3 separate regions of the Homo sapiens genome follow, and regions 1 and 2 are each linked to region 3. The links are contacts of gene promoters, found by promoter capture Hi-C in human tissues and cell types (Jung and others, 2019). All regions are on one chromosome and are shown on one strand. The core of a region is centred on a gene start or on the middle of the fragment in contact, and the rest is flanking DNA. Distances in the headings are between cores, read along the strand shown. Region 1 overlaps LOC124909377 (a long non-coding RNA gene). Region 2 overlaps USP19 (ubiquitin specific peptidase 19). Region 3 holds the start of GPX1 (glutathione peroxidase 1).

The links. The method cuts DNA at HindIII sites, captures the fragments that hold promoters and counts their contacts. A contact is called where the count stands out against the background at its distance.
Region 1: a fragment that was not itself captured here is called in contact with the fragment with the promoter of GPX1 in region 3 in 10 of the 25 tissues and cell types used here (aorta, dorsolateral prefrontal cortex, hippocampus and 7 more).
Region 2: a contact is called between a fragment that was not itself captured here and the fragment with the promoter of GPX1 in region 3, in 3 of the 25 tissues and cell types used here (bladder, dorsolateral prefrontal cortex and lymphoblastoid cells).

What each region holds. Positions count from the first base shown.
Region 1 is chr3:49,136,240-49,140,053 of GRCh38, reverse strand. The region is part of intron 1 of LOC124909377 (a long non-coding RNA gene); the gene reads right to left. Among named protein-coding and RNA genes, the nearest start is that of LAMB2, 5.1 kb to the right of the region's middle. RefSeq lists a silencer at 3,524-3,814. The HindIII fragment of the contact is 9,716 bases long and covers 1-3,814 here.
Region 2 is chr3:49,111,019-49,114,634 of GRCh38, reverse strand. It overlaps USP19 (ubiquitin specific peptidase 19), which reads left to right. Exons shown (of 27, transcript NM_001199161.2): 16 at 351-461; 17 at 542-643; 18 at 2,006-2,146; 19 at 2,233-2,351; 20 at 2,587-2,724; 21 at 2,822-3,135; 22 at 3,270-3,380; 23 at 3,469-3,616. Among named protein-coding and RNA genes, the nearest start is that of USP19, 8.0 kb to the left of the region's middle. The HindIII fragment of the contact is 5,151 bases long and covers 1-3,616 here.
Region 3 is chr3:49,356,610-49,360,004 of GRCh38, reverse strand. GPX1 (glutathione peroxidase 1) reads left to right here and starts at 1,652. Exons shown (of 2, transcript NM_000581.4): 1 at 1,652-1,978; 2 at 2,258-2,829. The coding sequence starts at 1,727. The coding sequence ends at 2,617. It overlaps RHOA (ras homolog family member A), which reads left to right. Exons shown (of 5, transcript NM_001664.4): 5 at 1-860. RefSeq lists enhancers at 759-1,367, 1,130-1,459, 1,368-1,976 and a silencer at 1,620-1,679. The HindIII fragment of the contact is 32,276 bases long and covers 1-3,395 here.

The DNA.
Region 1 (3,814 bases), core at 658-3,157, 220 kb after region 3:
TGCACATTCCACAGCCAGGGGTGAGGCTGCCCTGCAGGGGCTGCTCAATATGGAGTAGCAAGGGAGTGTTTGGGGTTTTCCTGAGGGAGAACACAGCACGTTTATTGCTGTTTCCCCAAAGAACTTAAAGAAATACTTGTGAAAACAGCTGAAGGGAAACAGCAAGGCTAGGCGAGGGATGCCTATAGAGAGGACACATCAGGTGGCTCTTTCCTCACCCTGCCTGCCAGCCCTTGACTCTGGTTGACCCCTGACAGGGCTGTAGAGCCCCTGGAACCCTGTGCTGTTTTCCTGCCCAAATACTGCCATGCAGTATGGCCTCTCTGTCCAGGGTAAATGCCAGTGCCCATGGCAGTTCTGAGCAGTGGCTTAGGCAAGGGTTGGTGTGCACCCTCACACCTACACAGGGCCATTCTCATCCTTCAGTATTTTTTTTTTTTTTTGAGACGGAGTCTCGCTCTGTCGCCCAGGTTGGAGTGCAGTGGTGAGATCTCAGCTCACTGCAAGCTCCGCCTCCCAGGTTCATGCCATTCTCCTGCCTCAGCCTCCTGAGTAGCTGGGACTACAGGTGCCCGCCACCACGCCCGGCTAATTTTGTTTTTGTATTTTTAATAGAGACGGGATTTCACCATGTTAGCCAGGATGGTCTCAATCTCCTAACCTCGTGATCTGCCCGCCTCAGCCTCCCAAAGTGCTGGGATTACAGGCGTGAGCCACCGTGCTCAGCCCCTTCAGACATTTTTTTTTGAGACGGGCTCTCACTCTGTCACCCAAGCTGGAGTGCAGTGGCACAATCTTGGCTCATTGCAGTCTCAACCTTCCAGGCTCAAGGGATCCTCCCGCCTTATCTCCTGAGGAGCTGGGACCACAGGTGTGCCCCACCATGTCCAGCTAATTTTTGTATTTTTTGTAGAGATGGGGTTTTTCCATGTTGCCCAGGCTGGTCTTGAACTCCTGAGCTCAAGTGATCCACCCACCTTAGCCTCCCACAGACCTATTATTTTTTCAGAAATAGGGTCTCATGGGTCAGGCACAGTGGCTCACGCCTGTAATCCCAACACTTTGGGAGGCCGAGGCGGGTAGATCATGAGGTCAGGAGTTTAAGACCAGCCTAGCCAATATGGTGAAACCCCGTCTCTACTAAAAATACAAAAAAAAAAAAATTAGCCAGGCATGTTGGCGGTTGCCTGTAGTCACAGCTGCTCAGGAGGCTGAGGCAGGAGAATTGCTTGAACCTGGGAGGTGAAGGTTGCAGTGAGACGAGATCGCACCACTACACTTACAGAGCGAGACTCTGTCTCACAAAAAAAAAAAAAGGAAAAGAAATAGGGTCTCACTCTGTCACCTGGGCTGGAGTACAGTGGCATGATCTTAGCTCACTACAGCCTCAACCTCCCAGGTTCAAGTGATCCTCCCACCTCATCCTGCTGAGTAGCTGAGACTACAGCACACGCCGCCACACCTGGCTAATTTTTAAATTTTTTTGTAGAGACAGGATCTCCCTATGTTGCTCAGGCTGGTCTCAAACTCCTGAGCTCAAGTGATCCTCCTGCCTCAGCCTCCCAAAGTGGTGGGGTTACAGGTGTGAGTCACTGCACCTGGCCCATCCTTCAGGTCTCTCGAAGGTAAGGCTAGAGCTAGTGTCATCTGCTCTCTACCCTGACCCTATCTCTCCTCTGCAGCCTGTGCCTGTGACCCACAGGGCTCCATCTTGCCCAGCTGTGATTCACACATGGGCACCTGCTTCTTCAGAGAGGGCATCTTAGGGCTGAGGTGCCAGGCATGTGCTCATGGCTCCAGAGGTGCCTTCCCACACTGCACCTCCTGTCCCACCTGCTTCACCTTCTGAGACCAACTCCTGGCTCTGCTCCCACTGCAGCTGGAAGCTGTGGCCCAAGAGGTGGCCACCCTATGCTAGGGGATGCCTGGTGGGGGTGTTAGGGGCCAGGGTGGACACCTGCAGGTCCTAGATTGGGTACTGTAGCAGGCACAGGCTGCTCCCTCCAACCTGGGACCCTGCCCACTGTTCAGTGGGCTCTTGTTGCCTTCCACAACTCCTCCCATAGCCTGGACATAGAGTCACAGCCTTGGAGCAGCATCAACAACAGGTACACAGCCAGGGGGACTGTGGGTGGGAGCCATGGGGGAGTCACAGGAAACCATGGCTTGGACATGGTGTTGTAGGCAACATATTCCACATCTGACCCACGCCCACCAGCTGCAGCAAATCCAGGCCATAGCAAGCTCCACAGGAATCCAGGCACAGGAGACATGGTATTGGGAAAGGGGACCTTGGGGCATGACTGCCATGACCCACATGCAAGCAGCCGTGCAGATCATCCAGCGCTTCCTCATGGGTACATATCTGCTTGTTGCATGTCTGTTCACAGCCAAGGGCAGGGTTAATAGGGTATGCAGGACACTATCATGATACTCCTTCCAGAATGAGGAATATTCATCAGGGCTGACCAGGGGTCAAGTGGGAACACTAGTGTGTGCGTAAATTTTTTTTTTTTTTTTGAGAGGGAGTCTTGCTCTGTCACCCAGGCTGGAGTGCAGTGGTGCAATCTCGGCTCACTGCAACCTGCGCCCCCCGGGTTCAAGCGATTCTCCCACCTCAGCCTCCCAAGTAGCTGGGATTACAGGCACACTGTAATTTTTTTTTGTATTTTTAGTAGAGACGGGGTTTCACCATCTTGGCCAGGCTGGTCTTGAACTCCTGACCTCATGATCCACCCGCCTTCGCCTCCCAAAGTGCTGGGATTACAGGCGTGAGCCACCGCATCTGGCCATGTGTGTAGATAAATTTTTAACAACTGGCTGTGAGTCAGGGGAAACTGATTTTTAGCATTTGTCAATATCCATGATGTAAGTAATGCTATCATGATTGATTTCAGTCCATACCATTTGACAACTTATTTGCAAAATTCCTGAAAATTTAACAATTGGCTCTTTTTATTTTAGTATTATTATTATTATTTTTGAGAGGGAGAGTCTCGCTCTGTCACCCAGGCTGGAGTGCAGTGGCGTGATCTCGGCTCACCACAACCGCCACCTCCTGGGTTCAAGCGATTCTCCTGCCTCAGCCTTCTGAGTAGCTGGGATTACAGGCACCCGCCACCACATCCAGCTAATTTTTGTTATTTTTAGTAGAGATGAGTTTTCACTACATTGGCCAGGCTGGTCTCAAACTCCTGACCTTGTAATCTGCCTGCCTTGGCCTCCCAAAGTGCTGGGATTACCCTTTTTTTATTATCATTTTATTTTTTATTTTTTTTAGAGACAGAGTCTCGCTCTGTCACCCAGGCTAGAGTGCAGTGGTGTGATCTTGGCTCACTGCAAGCTCCGCCTCCCGGGTTCAAGCAATTCTCCTGCCTCAGCCTCCTGAGTAGCTGGGAGTACAGGCACATGCCACCATGCCTGGCTAATTTTTTGTATTTTAGTAGAGATGGGTTTTCACCGTGTTGCTCAGGCTGGTCTCGAACTCCTGAGCTCAGGCAATCTGCCTGCTTCGGCCTCCCAAAGTGCTGGGATTACAGGCGTGAGCCACTGCGCCCGGCCAACAATTGCCTCTTGTAAGCCTCCAGCACACCACTGGATAGTTGTGTCTAAGGCAGGATCAGTGAGAGGCTAGGGTCAGGGTTTGTTGGCTCAGAGTTCAGGGTTCAGGCCTAAGATCCCTACCCTCTTCCCCACAGACAAAGGTGTGGACACCACAAGTGTGGAGCTGGCTGTCAGTGCCCCTTCCCCAAGGTGGGGGCAGTAGGCATTGCTCTTCTGCTGGGTCAGATCCAGGGTGCTCTCCCTGTACCGG
Region 2 (3,616 bases), core at 997-3,496, 250 kb after region 3:
CCTTAGGATTCTATTTGGGCTGAAGAGCCCACTCAGGGTAGGCTTCCTGACTGAGGGAAAAGTGATGTTAGAGCTCAAAGGTGTTGTAGCAGGGTTGTGGGCACATGGGGTGCAAGTGTGAGGCCAATTCGTAAAGTGGCTAAGCTGAGTAGGGCTTTGAGTGCCAGAAAGAAGGATTGTTATTTCCTGGTGGTCCTCCTGCCCTGTCTAGTGTCCTGAAGCCTGAGAGTTTGCTGGTTGGCTGTGGGGGCCCTGAGAGCCATCAGAAGCCCCGGAATGGGCTCTCTGAGCATGAGCATCTTATCTCCCACTCTGTGTGCAGCTACCCAGTGCCACCTCTACATCCACAGGTCTCCATCACTTTTGACCCGTTTCTTTATCTGCCGGTGCCCTTGCCACAAAAGCAAAAGGTTCTCCCTGTCTTTTATTTTGCCCGAGAGCCCCACAGCAAGCCCATCAAGGTGAGGAGTAAGCCCCTACCCTCTGGGCTGTTCTAGAGAACGTGGCCCACCTCCCTCACTGACTGCCCTTTTTGCCACAGTTCCTGGTGAGCGTCAGCAAGGAGAACTCCACTGCGAGCGAAGTATTGGACTCCCTCTCTCAGAGTGTTCATGTGAAGCCTGAGAACCTGCGTTTGGCGGAGGTATCTTTGTCCTTCCTTGGGCTATCACATGTGTGGATGTGTGTGTGTACTCACCACAGACGTGTGTACAGTCATTGGCATCTACAGACATACACATGGGCTGGGCACAGTGGCTCATGCCTGTAGTCCCAGCACTTTGTGAGGCCGAGGTGGGCAGATCACTTGAGCCCAGGAGTTTGGGACCAGCCTGGGCAACTTGGTGAAACACTGTCTCTACAAGAAATAAAATTAGCTGGGCATGGTGGTACGTGTTATAGTCCCAGCTACTTGGGAGGCTGAGGCAAGAGGCTCACTTGAGCCCGGGATGTGGAGGTTGCAGTGAGCAGAGATTGCACCACAGCACTCCAGCCTGGGTGACAGAGTGAGACTCTGTCTCAAAAATAAATAAATAAATAGATAAAAAAATAAAAATAGGGCCAGGCGTGGTGGCTCATGCCTGTAATCCCAGCTCTTTGGGAGGCCAAGGCTGATGGATCACAAGGTCAGGAGATCCAGACCACCCTGGCTTACATGGTGAAACCCCACCTCTACTAAAAATACAGGAAAAGTTAGCCGGGCGTGGTGGCACATGTCTGTAGTCCCAGCTGCTCAGGAGGCTGAGGCAGGAGAATCGCTTGAACCTGGGAGGCAGAGGTTGCAGTGAGCCGAGATCGCGCCACTGCACTCCAGCCTGGGTGACAGAGTGAGACTCTGTCTCAAAAATAAAATAAAATAAAATAAAAATAGACATACACATGAGTATGCCTGTGACTGTACAAAAACAGGCGATGTGCTGTTATTTTTTCTGTGCAACAGAAGTGCCCTCAGTTCCTAGCCATTATCAGGGTTTATTCCCCTTTGTGGTGGTGGATCCCAACTGCATTTCCCTTTTTAGACAAGGAGCTTGAGCTGCAGGACTATCCCTATGTTCGCTCTGCCTCTCCCTCTATCCTGCTGCTCTCTCCTTTTATCCCAGTTGTGTGTGCTAGCTCTCCCCAGGGGTTCCTAGCCTTTAGCCTGACAGTGTTGGTTTTCTTAGGGGTAAGAGTGGGGAGGAGGCTCTTTGAATGTGGACCCTCCATGATAATATGTTACAGTCTTATAAGGCTATGCTAGTTATAGCAGGGCAGAGTCCCTCAGTGTGGAGAGCTGGTGTGGTTGATATCTGCCTCACACCTGGTCTTTCAGGCCCTCTGATGCACCAGGCTCCTTATGGCATTGGGCACTGAGACAGGTGCCAGCAGAGGCATAAGCCTATTTGGGCCTACAGACCTCACCACTGCCCACATAGACCCAAGGCAGGGCCAAGCCTTCTTAAACTCTGGGGCAGGGCTAGGGAAAGGGCTTATCCTCACGTGGGATCTGTGTGTTCTCTGTCCCCAGGTAATTAAGAATCGTTTTCATCGTGTGTTCCTACCCTCCCACTCACTGGACACTGTGTCCCCATCTGATACGCTCCTCTGCTTTGAGCTGCTATCCTCAGAGTTGGCTAAGGAGCGGGTAGTGGTGCTAGAGGTGCAACAGGTGAGTGGGGGCCAACCTGATGGCACAGCGCCCTGGTGGGTGGGGCACTTCTTCCTGGTCTTGCTGAGCCAGACGACCCACCCTAGCGCCCCCAGGTGCCCAGCGTCCCCATCTCCAAGTGTGCAGCCTGCCAGCGGAAGCAACAGTCGGAGGATGAAAAGCTGAAGCGCTGTACCCGGTGCTACCGTGTGGGCTACTGCAACCAGTGAGGACCCCCATGGTCTCCCCTACCCTTTCTTTCCACCTTCCATGTGCCACCCTGCTCCTTCCCTTCACACCAAGGCACATATGCTTAAGCTTTCTACTTGCCACCCTACTTTACCAGGCTCTGGGGGAGGCAGGGCTGGCGTACCCAGTTCCCAGGGACTATGACTAGCCCCCAGTATGGAGTCATAGGAGATGGGGCTAAGGGCCTATCCTTGTCTTCCTCTTCCCGTCAGGCTCTGCCAGAAAACCCACTGGCCTGACCACAAGGGCCTCTGCCGACCTGAGAACATTGGCTACCCCTTCCTGGTCAGTGTACCTGCCTCACGCCTCACTTATGCCCGCCTCGCTCAGTTGCTAGAGGGCTATGCCCGGTAAGTGCCCAGTGGTTGGACTAGAGTGGTGTAGGTGGGGGCAGAGGTGCTAGATGGGCTGGTCAGGAGTCTTACTTGCGTTGTTCTCTGTTGCCAGGTACTCTGTGAGTGTATTCCAGCCACCCTTTCAGCCAGGCCGCATGGCCTTGGAGTCTCAGAGCCCTGGCTGCACCACACTGCTCTCCACAGGTTCCCTGGAGGCTGGGGACAGCGAGAGAGACCCCATTCAGCCACCTGAGCTCCAGCTGGTGACCCCTATGGCTGAGGGGGACACAGGGCTTCCCCGGGTGTGGGCAGCCCCTGACCGGGGTCCTGTGCCCAGCACCAGTGGAATTTCTTCTGAGATGCTGGCCAGTGGGCCCATTGAGGTTGGCTCCTTGCCAGCTGGCGAGAGGGTGTCCCGACCCGAAGGTAAGATCCAGTGAAAGGCTCTAGAAGCTGGGGAGGAGGATAAGGGAGGATGGAGGGGGCTGTTGTTTAGGGCCTGGTGGGCCTGGTGAGGCCCTGATGGGCAGGGAAGCTTTGATTATCATGTTCTCACACAGCTGCTGTGCCTGGGTACCAGCATCCAAGTGAAGCTATGAATGCCCACACACCCCAGTTCTTCATCTATAAAATTGATTCATCCAACCGAGAGCAGCGGCTAGAGGACAAAGGTGTCTGAGGCTGTGGGTGGGAGCCATGGGGTGGGTTGAGCTGGCTGTTCTCCACAGCTGCATGACCTCTCTCCCTGCGAATCTCCAGGAGACACCCCACTGGAGCTGGGTGACGACTGTAGCCTGGCTCTCGTCTGGCGGAACAATGAGCGCTTGCAGGAGTTTGTGTTGGTAGCCTCCAAGGAGCTGGAATGTGCTGAGGATCCAGGCTCTGCCGGTGAGGCTGCCCGGGCCGG
Region 3 (3,395 bases), core at 403-2,902:
GCTCTAACAGCCCTCCTCTGCACTCCCACCTGACACACCAGGCGCTAATTCAAGGAATTTCTTAACTTCTTGCTTCTTTCTAGAAAGAGAAACAGTTGGTAACTTTTGTGAATTAGGCTGTAACTACTTTATAACTAACATGTCCTGCCTATTATCTGTCAGCTGCAAGGTACTCTGGTGAGTCACCACTTCAGGGCTTTACTCCGTAACAGATTTTGTTGGCATAGCTCTGGGGTGGGCAGTTTTTTGAAAATGGGCTCAACCAGAAAAGCCCAAGTTCATGCAGCTGTGGCAGAGTTACAGTTCTGTGGTTTCATGTTAGTTACCTTATAGTTACTGTGTAATTAGTGCCACTTAATGTATGTTACCAAAAATAAATATATCTACCCCAGACTAGATGTAGTATTTTTTGTATAATTGGATTTCCTAATACTGTCATCCTCAAAGAAAGTGTATTGGTTTTTTAAAAAAGAAAGTGTATTTGGAAATAAAGTCAGATGGAAAATTCATTTTTTAAATTCCCGTTTTGTCACTTTTTCTGATAAAAGATGGCCATATTACCCCTTTTCGGCCCCATGTATCTCAGTACCCCATGGAGCTGGGCTAAGTAAATAGGAATTGGTTTCACGCCTGAGGCAATTAGACACTTTGGAAGATGGCATAACCTGTCTCACCTGGACTTAAGCATCTGGCTCTAATTCACAGTGCTCTTTTCTCCTCACTGTATCCAGGTTCCCTCCCAGAGGAGCCACCAGTTCTCATGGGTGGCACTCAGTCTCTCTTCTCTCCAGCTGACTAAACTTTTTTTCTGTACCAGTTAATTTTTCCAACTACTAATAGAATAAAGGCAGTTTTCTAAACTTCCTGTATCCTGTTGTTTGTGTTGCTCTCTCCAGGGCTGGGGGTAGGAGGATGCAAGGACTTCCTGGCCTAGCTCACCCTGGAGAGGTTTGTTGAGTGCAAAGGACTAGCTTGTGCCCCACCTCCCACCCACCCAGCAGCTAATCTGGTCCCTCCCAACAACATGGAAATGATTACCCTGTACCGCATTCTGGTTCAGATTTGGGGGTAGGGTGAATGCAGCCTGAGGAGGCCAGGGAGGGAGGACTCCGGCAGCGTTTCCTTGGCCTCGGCGAGCTACTGGGCTCCACTTAAGGAGGCTGGGGCAGAGCTTCCAGGACTCTGCCCGGTTAGAAAACCCGCACGAGGGCGGTGCCGCTTTGGAGACAGGGAGGAGGGAGACCGGAAGCCTAGATCCCTCTGGCTGTCCCCTGCACTGCCGGTAACATGGCACAGGAGAGGAGGGCTGTTTGTGCACGGGCAGCTCCTGCAGCTGCTGCCGTCGCCCACCAGCCTCCTATGCCAAACCCCACATCCTAACTCAGGAACCTCTGAGAAAAAACGGAGCCCTCGAGGGCCCCAGCCCTTGGAAGGGTAACCTGGACCGCTGCCGCCTGGTTGCCTGGGCCAGACCAGACATGCCTGCTGCTCCTTCCGGCTTAGGAGGAGCACGCGTCCCGCTCGGGCGCACTCTCCAGCCTTTTCCTGGCTGAGGAGGGGCCGAGCCCTCCGGGTAGGGCGGGGGCCGGATGAGGCGGGACCCTCAGGCCCGGAAAACTGCCTGTGCCACGTGACCCGCCGCCGGCCAGTTAAAAGGAGGCGCCTGCTGGCCTCCCCTTACAGTGCTTGTTCGGGGCGCTCCGCTGGCTTCTTGGACAATTGCGCCATGTGTGCTGCTCGGCTAGCGGCGGCGGCGGCGGCGGCCCAGTCGGTGTATGCCTTCTCGGCGCGCCCGCTGGCCGGCGGGGAGCCTGTGAGCCTGGGCTCCCTGCGGGGCAAGGTACTACTTATCGAGAATGTGGCGTCCCTCTGAGGCACCACGGTCCGGGACTACACCCAGATGAACGAGCTGCAGCGGCGCCTCGGACCCCGGGGCCTGGTGGTGCTCGGCTTCCCGTGCAACCAGTTTGGGCATCAGGTGCGCCGGGCGGAGCGGGGCGGGGCGGGGGCGGACGTGCAGTAGTGGCTGGGGGCGCCGGCGGTGTGCTGGTGGGTGCCGTCGGCTCCATGCGCGGAGAGTCTGGCTACTCTCTCGTTTCCTTTCTGTTGCTCGTAGCTGCTGAAATTCCTCTCCGCCCTTGGGATTGCGCATGGAGGGCAAAATCCCGGTGACTCATAGAAAATCTCCCTTGTTTGTGGTTAGAACGTTTCTCTCCTCCTCTTGACCCCGGGTTCTAGCTGCCCTTCTCTCCTGTAGGAGAACGCCAAGAACGAAGAGATTCTGAATTCCCTCAAGTACGTCCGGCCTGGTGGTGGGTTCGAGCCCAACTTCATGCTCTTCGAGAAGTGCGAGGTGAACGGTGCGGGGGCGCACCCTCTCTTCGCCTTCCTGCGGGAGGCCCTGCCAGCTCCCAGCGACGACGCCACCGCGCTTATGACCGACCCCAAGCTCATCACCTGGTCTCCGGTGTGTCGCAACGATGTTGCCTGGAACTTTGAGAAGTTCCTGGTGGGCCCTGACGGTGTGCCCCTACGCAGGTACAGCCGCCGCTTCCAGACCATTGACATCGAGCCTGACATCGAAGCCCTGCTGTCTCAAGGGCCCAGCTGTGCCTAGGGCGCCCCTCCTACCCCGGCTGCTTGGCAGTTGCAGTGCTGCTGTCTCGGGGGGGTTTTCATCTATGAGGGTGTTTCCTCTAAACCTACGAGGGAGGAACACCTGATCTTACAGAAAATACCACCTCGAGATGGGTGCTGGTCCTGTTGATCCCAGTCTCTGCCAGACCAAGGCGAGTTTCCCCACTAATAAAGTGCCGGGTGTCAGCAGAACTGTGTGTATGTCCTGTGTCATTGTCATTTGGGAATTCTTTTTCTTTTCTTTTTTTTTTTTTTTTTTTGAGACGGAGTTTTTTGCTCTATTGCCCAGGCTGGAGTGCAGTGGCGCAATCTAGGCTCACTGCAAGCTCCGCCTCCCGGGTTCACGCCATTCTCCTGCCTCAACCTCCTGAGTAGCTGGGACTACAGGTGCCTGCCACCACGCCCGGCTAATTTTTTGTATTTTTAGTAGAGACAGGGTTTCACCGTGTTAGCCAGGATGGTATCGATCTCCTGACCTCGTGATCCACCCGCCTCGGCCTCCCAAAGTGCTGGGATTACAGGTATGAGCCACCGCACCCGGCCTGGCGATACTTTTTCTAACCTCATTGTCATAGTGGTGGGAACTTAATCCTCCTTCCCTTATCCTAGCCAAGTCTGAACTTTCTGTCCTTTTGTCTGCAGCGTGTAGGATCCACTCTTTCCTTTGTGGGAAGTCTGGCTCCTGGCCTGCATTTCTGCCTTCACCAGAACATGCAAAGGGCCATCTCAAGACCCAGTTACAACAAAGTCCTTACTTC